Regions from separate parts of the Homo sapiens genome. Here region 1 is linked to region 2. Evidence: promoter capture Hi-C in human tissues and cell types (Jung and others, 2019). All regions are on one chromosome and are shown on one strand. Each heading gives the region's core, a stretch centred on a gene start or on the middle of the fragment in contact. The rest is flanking DNA. Distances are from core to core; before and after follow the strand shown.

Evidence for each region. Contacts are between HindIII fragments. The study calls those that stand out against the background at their distance.
Region 1: a contact is called between a fragment that was not itself captured here and the fragment with the promoter of SCN4A in region 2, in 1 of the 25 tissues and cell types used here (mesenchymal stem cells).

Annotation. Positions count from the first base shown.
Region 1 is chr17:64,115,525-64,122,552 of GRCh38, reverse strand. The region is part of intron 1 of ERN1 (endoplasmic reticulum to nucleus signaling 1); the gene reads left to right. Among named protein-coding and RNA genes, the nearest start is that of ERN1, 11 kb to the left of the region's middle. RefSeq lists enhancers at 1,086-1,225, 1,456-1,515. The HindIII fragment of the contact is 3,950 bases long and covers 2,087-6,036 here.
Region 2 is chr17:63,971,452-63,978,250 of GRCh38, reverse strand. SCN4A (sodium voltage-gated channel alpha subunit 4) reads left to right here and starts at 5,333. Exons shown (of 24, transcript NM_000334.4): 1 at 5,333-5,682; 2 at 5,781-5,899; 3 at 6,026-6,115; 4 at 6,401-6,529. The coding sequence starts at 5,410. The HindIII fragment of the contact is 21,993 bases long and covers 1-6,799 here.

The sequences.
Region 1 (7,028 bases), core at 2,812-5,311, 150 kb before region 2:
CTTTGAAGGGAATTTCCAAAGAATTCCAGAAATATTTTGAGCCCTAGAAGCATGTATGAATAGATGTGTAGCCTCCCAAGATAACTGGAATCAGAGTGCATTAGACTGCTTGATGGGCTCTCGGCCATGTAGTCCAATGAGTCTCAATTTTTTCCCCTTCCAGCTGCACATAAGAAATATGGCGCACATCCCTCAGTAACAGTATGAGCACATCAGAACCTAGGAGGGTGGTGTTTGGGGCACCCTCTCTCAGGCATTACCCTCCTCTCCCAAGCTGAGAAAAATTACTACCCTGCTCTGTCTTCCAGAGCAGACAGATGGGAAAAGGCAACCAGCAAGGGCTGGTAACCTGTCCAGGGTCATGTGTGAGTGGCAGAACCAAACCTTAAACTTGATCCTCCTACCTCCCTTTGAAGAGAAGCCCCTGCAGTGCTTATGTTCTGGTGCGTATGTTGGGACAAACCAGTCTGGCTACCCTCAGTCATACCCTGAGGAGCTGACCAAACTATGTGGCCATGAGAGAAGGATCTAGAGAAGGTCTAGGCCAGTAGGCTTTCTTGTAAGCTTCAGGAAAATACCCAGATAATGTTATTTTTCCTCCGTTAAGAATCATGGCCTTCTACCCTTTGTTGCAGTTGTGCGAAGATGCCATTTTGAGATGGGAATGCTGCCTTCACCTGAGAGTCTCCATCAAGGAAATTGGCCATTTTCAACTGTAGAGTCAAATCCAGCAATCATGGAGAGAGTAGGGATTAAAAGCCTGCTCGGCTGGGCACAGTGGCTCACGCCTGTAATTCCAGCACTTCAGGAAGCTGAGGCGGGCGGATCATAAGGTCAGGAGTTCAAGACCAGCCTGGCCAACATGGTGAAACCCCATCTCTACAAAAATACAAAAATTAGCCAGGCATGGTGGCGGGCACCTGTAATCCCAGCTACTCATGAGGCTGAGGCAGAAGAATCGCTTGAACCTGGGAGGCGGAGGTTGCAGTGAGCTGAGATCCTGCCATTGCACTCCAGCCTGGGCAACAGAGACTCCGTCTCAACAACAACAACAAAAAATTGCCTGCTAAGCCTAATTCACAGTTTAAGCTAATTTCTTTGCTTGGAGTCTAATAATATCCAAGCAGGTGCATGTTTTCAGTAACATCTCGCCTAGTCATATGTCTGAAAGAACAAAACTGAAAGTTCTTTCCTTAGAGGCCTTTAACCCAAGCCGCTCTTCTCTAGCTCAGTCACAGCCTTCACCAAGAAGTCCTGAAAAGATAGAACTCTTGCATTACCGTGCTGGTTCTGGGTGTTTGCCTTTGCAGAGGCGCCACCTGCCAAGCAGTTCTGGCACCAGGGAGCAGGTCTGTGATGACAGGAGAGAGACAGTGGCTGTGACTCTGGCTCTTAAACCACAATGGAGGGATTCAAGTTAGCTTAGGTAGCTCTCAGAGGAGACTAATGAGGGAAGGAAGGAGCAAGGGGGGAAGGAAGGTGCCCCTGGGAGTGTGTCTCACTTCCCTTGCTGGTTCATCCGAGAAGGCAGGGACCCTGGCTTGCTGATGGTTGCATCCTCTGTGGCATTTAACGTGGCATGCTGGTTATACCCACTGTAGGGGGCACTCAGCAAATATTTATTGAATTCTTCTTTGAGACTCATTAAGACCAATAAAGGGGCTGTATTATATCATCAAGCAAGTGGGTTGTGGATGGGGGTGGGAGGTATTGCTTCAGCTATATTTTATATTCTTTAATGGGATTGCACCAGTTGTGTGTCTTTCTACAGAACTAGAGGAGCTTTCAGGATATTTGCTTGGGTGGACGTGACCCATAGTGTGTAGTGTTCTTTTGGTGGGCTCTTCTTATCAGTAATGAGATTAATTTTTCCATTGCCAAACTCCATGAGGTAAACAGTTTGTGATTATTTCATGTCAGTTTCATTTTTCACTCAGCATGATGTTTCACTGTTAAAAAAATGAACCTTGGCCCAGAGTTGTCCTCTCATGTATTAAACATGACTTCCTTTGTTAGTAGACTAATTTATAATTATAATTCAAAACCATCCCATTCTCCAGTGGATTATTTCCCCCCTCTCTGTCAGATGAAGGAATAATTGTTTGTCTGGGCTGCAGGAGTGTCTGTCATGGAAACCGAATTTTTCTGTACATTCTCTGAACAAACAGTGCTGTCACATCCCTAGAACCTGACATTGTCATTGATCTCCAGTTGAGTCAGAGAAGTTTGTTGACCAAGGTAAATCAGATCTCTCTTCTCTTAAAGCAAATGGCCCATGACTCCTGAGGGGCCACTAGGAGTGAGAGAATCACCTGTACAGGGGGCCACAACTGTGGCTAGGAATGTGTTACTTGAGGCGGTGCTTCCCAGCCATGACTCAGTCACCTGGGGAGCTTTTTAAAAACGCTGTGCTGGGGCCCCATCCTATGTGAATGAAATTGGAATCTCTGGGAGTGGGGGCCGGCATCTTTTCTTTTTTAAAAAAAAAATGTTTAAGGCCAGGCTCAGTGGCTTACACCTGTAATCCCAGCACTTTGGGAGGCCAAGACAAGAGGATCACTTGAAGTCAGGAGTTTGAGACCAGACTGGGCAACAATGAAAGACCCCATCTCTACCAAATAAACCAGCAAAAAATGTTTTAAGGCCCAAGTGACTCTGATGTGCAGCCAGGATGAGGCCTTCAAGTAATTTTTGTACCTTAATCCTGGAAAGAACAAATGCATCTCCAAATTCCCAGTCACGTCACAGAGCACGGGACCAGACTAGACACAGCATTTGGCTCATTTTACAGAGAGGTTAGGATTGATAGAGTCCGCTAGTTAGTGTTAGAACTAGAAATAAAGTTCTAACTTTATTTCTAGTTCTAGGCGTGGTGGCTCATGCCTGTAATCCCAGCACTTTGGGAGGCTGAGACGGGCGGATCATCTGAGGTCAGGAGTTGGAGATCAGCCTGGCCAACATGGTGAAACCCCGTCTCTACTAAAAAAATGACAAAAATTAGCCAGGCGTGGTGGCGCGTGCCTGTAATCCCAGCTGCTTGGGAGGCTGAGGCAGGAGAATTGCTTGAACCCAGGAGGCAGAGGTTGCAGTGAGCCAAGATCCCACCACTGCACTCCAGCCTGGGGAACAAGAGTGAAACTCAATCTCAAAAAAAAAAAAAAAAAAAAAAAAAAAAACCTAGAAAAAAAGGAACCTAATATTACATTTTCTCTACTGTACTATATCATTCAACTTTTAAAGAGCAGGTAATTTAATGGATTTTTTCCTTTGAATACAAACTGTTGAAATTGCTTTTATCAGCTTTAACTAATAGGCCTTATATTAAAACATATTTAGTTACTGAATTGTAAGATGTTTAAATGTTTATTTAAAGTTACCCGACTTATGCTTGTTTATTTATTTATATATTTGTTTATTGCCTTTTCCATATATTAAGAGGCTTAAGAAATCAAAACAATGTTGTTTTCCAGGCTCCTTCACAGTATCCTGATGGGTAAAATCATCTTCATGGTTTTAAAAGAACCTTCCATAACAAAAATGAAATAGCCATTGCGAGTGAGGAGAAGGGATTTGTAGAAGGAGTGAGTTAGTTAAAGCACAAGAAGAAGCTTGTGAACCAACAGGAACTTTCCTATCAGGGTGGGAACATATGTTTTGGAAGCAAATGGTGGGAGGGTGCAGGCTGTGACACTCCCTTCCCCTTTTCATGTGAGAGCTGGCTATTAGCCTCATTGCCTGAGTCAGGCAGAGTTCCCTCGAAGGGTTTTTATAGCAGGTGCCGAGCTGACAAGCCCAACTGTAGAACACAGGAGAGGACCAGTCAGTTGTCTCAGCTCCCGGACCCATCTCAGTTGTTTCTCAGAGGATCTTTATTAGCTGGTTTAGAAACAGGAGGACACTTGCTTTCAAGCATCACATTGAGTGGGCTGGACCAAATCCAAAACTCTGCTGGAACCAAGTTGACAAATGTCAGTAGAATTGGGAGCCCGCTCTTTGAATACAACCTTGGAATGGGGCTTGGCACCTGGCCTGAAAGCGCTGTGTGGACTCCAGCACCAGGGCTGTTTCCTAATTTAACTTAATGCTTAAAGGAAATCCCAAGTGGCAGACCAGTTCTGCACTCCTTGAGCAGATAGGCATTTAGCTGTTTTTAAATGTAAAATCATTTTAGCTGTTTTTAAATGTAATCATAGGGCCAGTATCTTGTTTCTATATGTGTGTTTGCCCCATATGATGAAATTGTATGCATTCTTTCAGCAAGTGAGAGTCCGGAGGTTCTGTACTAGCTAGCTGTGCAACTTTGGGCAAATGAGTTATTTCCCCCTCTGCTTCCTCATCTGTAAAACAAAGCAACGGAACCAGAAAATCTCTTTGGTGGGCCTGTTTCCAAATGTCTTCCCAAATTAGGATCACCATTTAGGTGAAAGCGACTAGTCCCCCAGCCGCCTCTTTTTCTGGTGCAGCCTCATACGGGGAGGTAGAAGATGGGAGGGCTGCTTTGCTTTGAGCCTCCCAGCTTCCTAGCTCTTGAATGTAGTGAATTTCATCTGTTCATCCATTTATTTATCAACTTTTTGAGTACATATTTTATGCCAAGCACTGTTTGAGATGCTTGGGAAACATGAACAAAACAAAGACCCCCGCCCTCATGGAACTTCTACCTAGTTGGTTGGGATAGACAACAGCATGGTAAATACATTATATAGAATGTGATAAGGTGATAAAATTCTGCAGGGGTTGCAGGGGAGAAACATAGAGCAGAGCAAGGGAGATGGAGGCCTCGTAAGTTGCCACACACCGTGGTGTGGTTTCATCGGCTCTCGCTCACCTGTCTTGTATAGGGCCTAGGGCCTTCCCTGACCACTGTACTCTCGTAGACTAGATCCCTTCCTGCACTCCAAATAGCACCACGTCACTTAGTGTTGGGGTAATGTACAGGTTGGTGCTCCTGTTTGTTTCTTGTCTAATCTTCTGGAGGACTGGTGTTGATAGTCCTCAGGTATGTCTGAAAATCCTGAGCAAATATGAGGGACTGAGCGTGAACATTGTTGATTTTTCTTTACTTTCTATTTCTTTTTTCTTTTCTTTTTCTTTTTCTTTCTTTTTTTTTGAGATAGAGTCTCACTGTGTCGCCCACACTGGAGTGCAGTGGCGTGATTTTGGCTTACTGCAACCTCCGCCTCCCGGGTTCAAGTGATTTTCGTGCTTCAGCCTCCCGAGTAGCTGGGATTACAGCCATGTGCCAATACGCCCAGCTAATTTTTGTATTTTTAGTAGAGACGGGGTTTCGCCATGTTGCCCAGGTGAGTCTCAAACTCCTGGCCTCAAGTGATCCACCTGCTTTGGCCTCCCAAAGTGCTGGGGTTACAGGCATGAGCCACTGCGCCTGGCCACATTGTTGATTTTTTTAAAAATTTTTATTATTTATTTATTTTTTGAGATGGAATCTCACTCTGTCGTTGAGGCTGGAGTGAGGGCAGTGGCATGATCTCTGCTCACTGCAAGCTCCGCCTCCCGGGTTCACACCATTCTCCTGCCTCAGCCTCCCAAGTAGCTGGGAATACAGGCACACGCCACAACACCTGGCTTTTTTTTTTTTTTTTTGTATTTTTAGTAAAGACAGGGTTTCACCGTGTTAGCCAGGATGGTCTCAATCTCCGGACCTTGTGATCCGCCCACCTCGGCCTCCCAAAGTGCTGGGATTACAGGCATGAGCCACCGCTCCCGGCCACGTTGTTGATTTTTAAGGATAACATGATAAGACATTAAATCCTGTCAGGGAAACCTCAGAAAACCCCCACAACTCAGAGGGGTCAGAACCAGCCATTCTTTGATTTTTGTGATGGCTGTGCACCCAAATACACAAATGGGTGTGTTTGTGTGTGTGTGTGTGTGTGTTATTTTTTTTTTACATTAAATAAGATTACATTTTTTTTCCATTGTAGGAGTATTTGTAACATCTCCCGATAAATTGAAATGCGGTAAGAAAGTTCTAAGAACAAATTTGGGGAATCTCTGACCTTTAAAGGTACTACCTCATTATGAGCAATCCAGTGACCTTATTCTAGAATTCTGTTAGGGTTCGTTTTCCACTTGCCATGAGCTGGTTTTGCAAAGAAGAAAACGGTTTCCTTTATATGTGGAGATTAAGAACAAGTTTATCTGTAGTTTTGGTGCTCGACTAACTGGGAACCAAGCCACAGTTGCTTGTAAAACGGACCCTAAGTTATCTTGATCTTGATGGTTCAGTGCTTGGAAATCTCTGGGGCTTTCGGTGCCTGGTAAAAGTTCAATCACTTATCTGATTTGTGGTTGGCAGAAGAAAAGGTATCACCCTTTCAGTTTAGGAGATGGTTGCTTTTAGAGTCTATAGTAGGTAGGTGTGCCTGGGAATCAGCCACCTGGTCCCATGTAACATTAGTTGATTTTCATGGTATTTCTTTTCCCCATCCTGAACCTTAAAGTGAGTCAGATTATTACTAATTTCTAATGTTGCAATATTTTGAGATAAGCGGAGACACTTAGATGTTGCAAGACCAGGATTGGAAATGACTATGTTCAAAGGCATTAGGACTTCTAAACTCTGTCAAATTGTTATGCGGATTTTGGGCATGTTTTGATTGGTTGGGGCTAGAAGAAGCTGCAGCAAAGCCTGAGGAGAGATGAGGGTCTGGTAAGTCATGGATCATCATGCTTCAGAGCTGCAGCCACCATCCACCTCAGGCTTCTTACTTTCTTGGAAACCCATGCCTGGAAAAATCTAATGACTTGCCCAGAGCTCAAACCAGACCATGCATCTGTGTGCCCACCTCATCTTCTGTCAGCTTCATTCACCCCAAAAGCATCTATATGTTCCAGACTCATGAGGATACCTGAGGAACTTTGGTTTTGTTTTTAAACCAAAGAGTTTTGAGAGGATAAAATAACAGGTTTTGAAGCTATATGGACACAGGCTAGGGCAAGGAGTGAGAAGACAGCTGAGCAGGGTAGGGTGGGACCAGACTCTTGGAACTGCTCTGGGCAGGACC
Region 2 (6,799 bases), core at 4,084-6,583:
GGCTGGAATGCCGTGGTGTGATCTTGGCTCACTGCAACCTCCACCTCCCAGGTTCAAGTGATTCTCCTGCCTTAGCCTCCTGAGTAGGTGGGATTACAGGTGCCGCCACCACGCCCGGCTAATTTTTGTATTTTTAGTAGACACGGGGTTTCACTATGTTGGTCAGGTAGGTCTTGAACTCCTGACCTCAGGTGATCCACCTGCCTCAGCCTCCCAAAGTGCTGGGATTACAGGCATGAGCCACCGCGCCCAGCCTGGAGAATTTTAAAAGGAGAAACAGCATGACTAGTTTTTGTTTTTAAAAGATCAATAGCTATTTTAGGGGACTGATTCGGAGGGTGTGTGTGCAAAAGCAGATAGCAGGAAACAGGCTATTGTAAGAGACTATTGTGGTATGGACCCAGGGAGATGGAAAAATGTCAAATATAGGAGTATGTGGGAGATGATATTAATAGAACTTTGGACAGGCTTGGTGTGGAAGGTGAAGAAAAAGGAGAATTCAGGGAGATACCTTAATTTTTTATTTGAGCAGCCAATAGCAGTGATGCCGTTTCCTGGGTTGAAGGGTGGAACAGTGGAAGATGCAAACGTCTGATTGCAGTTGGGAGGGTGTGAGCCATCCCGGTGGAGCCGTCTGGGGGCAGTTGAATATACCAGCCTGGACGTCAAGGGAAACGTTTATCACATTCCCATGACATTACTATTATTTTATTCATGAACTTATTATTTTATAATTAATTTATTATTTTATTGTATTTATTGATTTTTAGAGACACGGTCTTGCTCTATCGCCGAGGCTGTAGTGCAGTAGTGCAATCACAGCTCACTGCAGACTCCACTTCCGTGGGTTCAAGTGATCCTCCTGCCTCAGCCTCCCGAATAGCTGGGACTATAGGCACACACCACCGCACCCAGCTAATTATTTTGTTTTTTGTGGAGACAGGGTCTCACTATGTTGCCCAGACTGGTCTCCAATTCCTAGGCTCAAACGATCCTCCCACTTTGGCCTTCCAAAGCACTGGGATTACAGGCGTGAGCCACCGTGCCTGGCCCCATGACATTATTTATGGTCATAGGAATGATGCCACCCTGAACCAGCTCGAACCCTGAAAAACATTAGAGATTGGGGACAGAAATCAGGACAAGCAGAGGAAAGTGATACGGAGCAGCCAGGGATGTGGAAGGGAAACAGCAAGCAGCTTCCATGGAGGCTGTGAGAATCAGGTGCTTCCAGAAAGGGGCTGTGGCCAACTGGGCTGCATGCTTCTGAGAGGCTCTGGGAGCTGAGGACAGAAGCGTGTTCACTGGACTTGGCAGCAGGGAGGGTGTTAGTGACTTGACAAAAGTAGTTTCAGTTGAAGGGGAAACGGAAGCCAGGTTGGAATGGATTGGAGAGAGAATGAAAGGTAAGGAAGTCAAGACAGCTGGTGTAGACACTTTCCAAGAAGTTTTACTGTGAAGAGGAAAGAAAAATAGGGCAATAGATGCAGGGAGGTGTGGGGCCAGGAGAATAGTTTTGTCACCACTGCCATTGTTTTTAAAGTGGGGGACACTAGAGTCTGTTCACAGATGGGGAGAGGTGGATGGGCAGTAGAGAGAGGGCACCTGGAGAGGTCTTTGAGAAGCAAGAGGGGCTGGGGTCCTGAGCCCCAGGAAAGCCTGACCCTTGCTTCTTATTATTATTCTAACAGGATAGAGGAAGACGGGGTGGGATGGGGAGATGGTTCTGTGGATTTGACAGTGTGTGTGTAGTGGTTCTTCCTTCCTCAGGGAAGACCATCAGCTGGGAGGCTCATGGGGAGGAGCGCGGAGGTCTGAGGAAAGAGGAGAAGGCATGAAATAGTTGTTTTCAAAAAGTGGAAAAGTGAGCCTACCAGAAAAATCCACACTACAGGGCTGGCAGGATTGAGGACAAACCCAGAATATGTGACCATGAATTTACGGTGAGCTCAGCCTAGTCATACCATTTCCCCAGCCACATTTCTCCAGCTCGGGGCTGACTTTGGAAAACCAGAGCTGGGGACATGCAGTTAGGGGTTCCCCAGGACTGTGTGATAGAAGGAGAGAGATCCCTCCTTCTGGGATCTCTCCCTGGGAGCTGTGGAGGAGGGACCAGAATGATGATCTTCTAAGTAAGCCTAGATGAGGAGGGACATGAAGTCAGAAGCAGGTGGAAAGGGAGAAAGTGCAGGGTCAAAGAACTGAAAGTGCCCAAAGATTATAGCAACCGGGCCCCTGAGCCAGGAGCTGAGAAGGTGGCAGGGGCAAAGGAAGAGTTTGAAGTGGTGATTTCAGAGGAGATATGGTTTCTGGTTATGATTTAGGTTCAGGGTATGCTTAAAGGAGAAAAGAGCTAAGGTAGAGTGTCCCTGTGATTCACTCACTTATTCATTTGATAAACTTTTATTGAGCTGGTGACACAAACAAGGGGAGAGTTCCACCCAGCCAGGGTACCCAGGGAGGGCTTCCTGGAGGAGGTGGTTCTTGTGTGGGTTGAGTCTAGAAAGATGAATGGAAGCTCTCCAGGGAGACAAAGAAGATGGGTGCTCTGGGAGGAGAGCAAACCACAAGCAAAGGCATGGGGGTTAGGGCAGGGGGGTGGAAAACAGCTTGGCCCATTTGTGAAAATGGAGGTAGCATGGCCAGAGGATGCGGGAAGGGTAGGCAATGAGGCAGGGATCTGATCATGGAGGGCCTTGGGAGCCCTGGGTAGGGCTTAGGACGTACTCCTAAGCAGTGGAAAGCCATTGAAGATTTAAGCAGGGGGTGAAATTTGTGACTTTACAAATATTTATGGCAGTCTAGGGGAGAGCCTGGTGGGAGGTGTTTCTTTGGTTGGTTTTTGAGACAGGGTCTCACTCTGTCACCCAGGCTGGAGGACAGTGGCACCATCATGGCTCACTGCAGCCTCGAACTCCTGAGCTTAAGGGATCCTCCTGCCTTCGTAGCTGGGACTACAGGAGCATGTCACCACGCGGGGAGGTTATTTGAACAGAACAGGTGAGGGGTGGAGGGTGGAGAGGGCAGTGACACTGGAGAGGGAGCATCAGTAGGGTGTGGAACTGGCCAGATCTACCACCATGATGCTTCGGGCAGCCACCAACCAAAGCCAGCTTCAGCAAGTGGAACCAGTGAGGACATTCCTCCCCTCACATTACAAAACAGCCAGACCTCAGGGGTAATGGAGGAGTAGGAGAAGAGGAAATTAGGAGGAAGTGAACATTTTGAAGGGAGAGGTGTACGCTGTGCAAAGAAAACAGGCTGCAGAGCAGGCCCCAGAGAAGAAGCATCTTCCAGGGGCAGGGAAGGGGCAGGTCCCAGAGCAGAGCTGGGGAGAGTGGCCGGACGCACAGGTGATGTCCTGCTCCCAAGAAGAAAGGCGGTGTGCGGTGTGGGAAGCTCAGGAGGGCCAGCGGGGAAGAAAACACTGGATCTGTCCCCTGGGGAGCTCTGGTGACTCAGGTGAGAGTCATTTCCTCGAGTGCTGGGGTTGGGAGCCAGACTATGTGTCTGTGGGCTTTTGTGGCCCTACTTGGGCTCGTGTAATGAAAAGAGTGAGCAGTATCAGGACAGGAGGATCATCACAGCAGGGACTGCAGACTGGGTGGGTGCACAGCAGCCCTGGGGTCTCTTCAAGGCCATCTGGCTGGTTGGCGCCTTCTGTGTAGTGACAAGCAGCATGTGGGGGTGTACGTGGAGTGGGTGATGGGGAGGAAGGTGGCAAGGTATATGACAGAGCTGTGAGATGCAACTGGGAAGGTCTGCATGTGGGGTGGCTCCAGGCCGGGTGTGCGTGCATGTGCCTGTGTGTGCAAGTGTGTGCACATGCACGCCCACGCTCACGACAGGGGCCAGTGAGCAGCTGAGGGCAGGGTTGGCAGGAATAAGCAGAGTCATCCCCGTGGAAACACGACTCCCTGGGTGCTGTAAGGAGCAGCTGGGAGCCAGGCACAAGGGCGTGGCCAGCTCTGCCCAGTGGCTCTGGCCTCTCCCTGGCCACCCTCCCCACCTGTTGAGCAAGCCTGAGAAGCGCCCGTGCTGACCAGGGCAGGGGCGCTGCTGCAAGGGTCAAGGCCCACTGGGAGAGGTCCACCCTCAGGTGTGGCTTTGGGGGTCTCTAGGGGTCTGTCCAGGTCCCTGTGGTGCAGGGGTGGCTCCAGGTCTGTCCATGTGGGTCTGGCAGTGGCTGCCTGCAGCTGGTCTGCAGGGGTCTCACTGCAACTGCCTGCTGATGTGGTCATTCCCCCAGGGCCATTTGCAATAAGTGATCCCCCTTCCCTTCCACAGGAATAGGCTCTGGAGGGCTGGGCAGAAGGGGAGAGGGGCCAGGTGGGGCCCAGACCACACAATGCTCACAGGCATCAAAGGCTCCTTGTGGATGCCCCTTCCCCCAATCCAGCTTGTGCTGGGACCACCAGCCAAAAGCAGTCCCCAGGAGCTCTAGCCCTGCCCCCACCATTGGAGTTGTCCATCTCCTTGTCCCTGTGACCTTCCCTGTACGTCTTCTCTTCCACGTTAGCACCTGCAGCTCTCCAGATGCAATGTTCCTCTCCCAGTTCACCCTGCCTGCCCAGTGGGCTAGAGCCCCCAGGGCTGTGGGAGGGAACTGCTAGGAGACCCCTGCCGGGCCCAGGGCCCTTTCTTCTTCCCTCTCCCAGCCCAACACCAAGTACCCCAAAGATCAGGAAAGAGGAATCCACACCCACCCCCATCTTTCTTTTCCCTTCCCTCCAGGCCAGGGATGGCAAACACAGGCAGAGGCACCACGGTCTTCCTCCTTGCGCCCCTGGCAGACATCACTAATCAATCACAGCAACCTTTTTGCACAGAGCCTGGCTGCCACCTTCATGGTCTCCACCTACATCTCCAGGTGGCCAATATCAGGATCCACGTCGGCCCTCAGGGTGAAGTCCCTGTGCCAGTCCCACTTTGATCTAACCCCCCAACCAGGCCCCTCATCCTGGCCTATCCAGAGGTCGCCTGAGCACAGCCAGCTGTGGTTCTCTCTCTGTCCCATTAGGCTGAAGCCACACAGTTCCCGGAGCTTGGGCCCAGGAGGCAGTCGAAGGCACTGGGGTGTTGACCCCAAGTCCCAAGGCCACAAAGAATCTGGTTGGTTTGCCGTCGGTCCTGAGGGCAGCCGCTGCCACTTCTGGGGAAAGTGTGGTGGGGGGGCCAGGGGTGATGCTCTGTGCCCAGCACCTGTGCAGCAGCAGCACCTTGCAGGCACATCTCCCAGTCCTGATAGAGTCTGCACGCCCACCTCCCCGGCTCGGCCACTGGGCAAGCAGGAGGTGAGGAGTGGACGGCCCGCCCAGGGAGGGGCGGCCGCCCAGCACCCCGGGGCTGCGCACTGCAGCTCCCCAGGCCACCCACCACCCTTCTGGTCTCTGAGCCCAGGATGCGAGGATGGCCAGACCATCTCTGTGCACCCTGGTGCCTCTGGGCCCTGAGTGCTTGCGCCCCTTCACCCGGGAGTCACTGGCAGCCATAGAACAGCGGGCGGTGGAGGAGGAGGCCCGGCTGCAGCGGAATAAGCAGATGGAGATTGAGGAGCCCGAACGGAAGCCACGAAGTGACTTGGAGGCTGGCAAGAACCTACCCATGATCTACGGAGACCCCCCGCCGGAGGTCATCGGCATCCCCCTGGAGGACCTGGATCCCTACTACAGCAATAAGAAGGTCTGGGCCTGGGAAGGCTTCCTCTGTCTGTCTGCCATCCATCCATCTGTCTGCCTGTCTGTCTGTCCCTGGGTCTCACAGCCTCTCTCCCACCTTAGACCTTCATCGTACTCAACAAGGGCAAGGCCATCTTCCGCTTCTCCGCCACACCTGCTCTCTACCTGCTGAGCCCCTTCAGCGTAGTCAGGCGCGGGGCCATCAAGGTGCTCATCCATGCATATCCTGCCCAAGATGGGAGAGGCGGGAGGGGTTAGGGATGGGCGAGATGGGGTGCTGTGGCCCAGGAGACCCTCTATCACCTCCCATCCTAGCTGCTTCCTCACTTTCCTTGACCCTGCCCCACGCTGTTCAGCATGTTCATCATGATCACCATCTTGACCAACTGCGTATTCATGACCATGAGTGACCCGCCTCCCTGGTCCAAGAATGTGGAGTAAGTCTCCCTGCTCCCTGAGCTCCCCAGCCCTGGGACACAGCCCATCTCAGGTGTTTGCACCTCTGTGTGGTGCTGCTCTTGTCTTTCAGGGAGACACACTGTCATTGTGACCCTCATCCACACCTTGAGTCCCTGGGGTGGCCATGCTATCACTCGCTAGTGTCCTTAGCCACCTGAGTGGCATATTTCATTTCTGTGTCCCTCCCTTCTGGGGGTCTGTCGTTGCCACACTGACCCCTACCCAGGTGACATGCCTGTCCCGGCCGGCCCTCTCCCCCCCAGGTACACCTTCACAGGGATCTACACCTTTGAGTCCCTCATCAAGATACTGGCCCGAGGCTTCTGTGTCGACGACTTCACATTCCTCCGGGACCCCTGGAACTGGCTGGACTTCAGTGTCATCATGATGGCGTGAGCAGGGGCCCCAGGACATCCTGAGGCTGGGGTGGGTGAGGGGAGGGGGCCAGGCCTTAAAGAGGGAAGCTGCCTGGGCTGAGGGCTGCAGGGGACATCGGTCAGTTGTGCAGATGGGGAGCTGCACAATTCTAGAAGCTGCCATTCTCAGGGTCTGGCTCAGCACTCTCCTGATGGACTCCTGATAATCACATGAGGCAGCCCTGACCCACAGACCCATGGGTCCTCACCTGCTGGGTGAGCCGGGCTATCTTTGCCATCCCCACT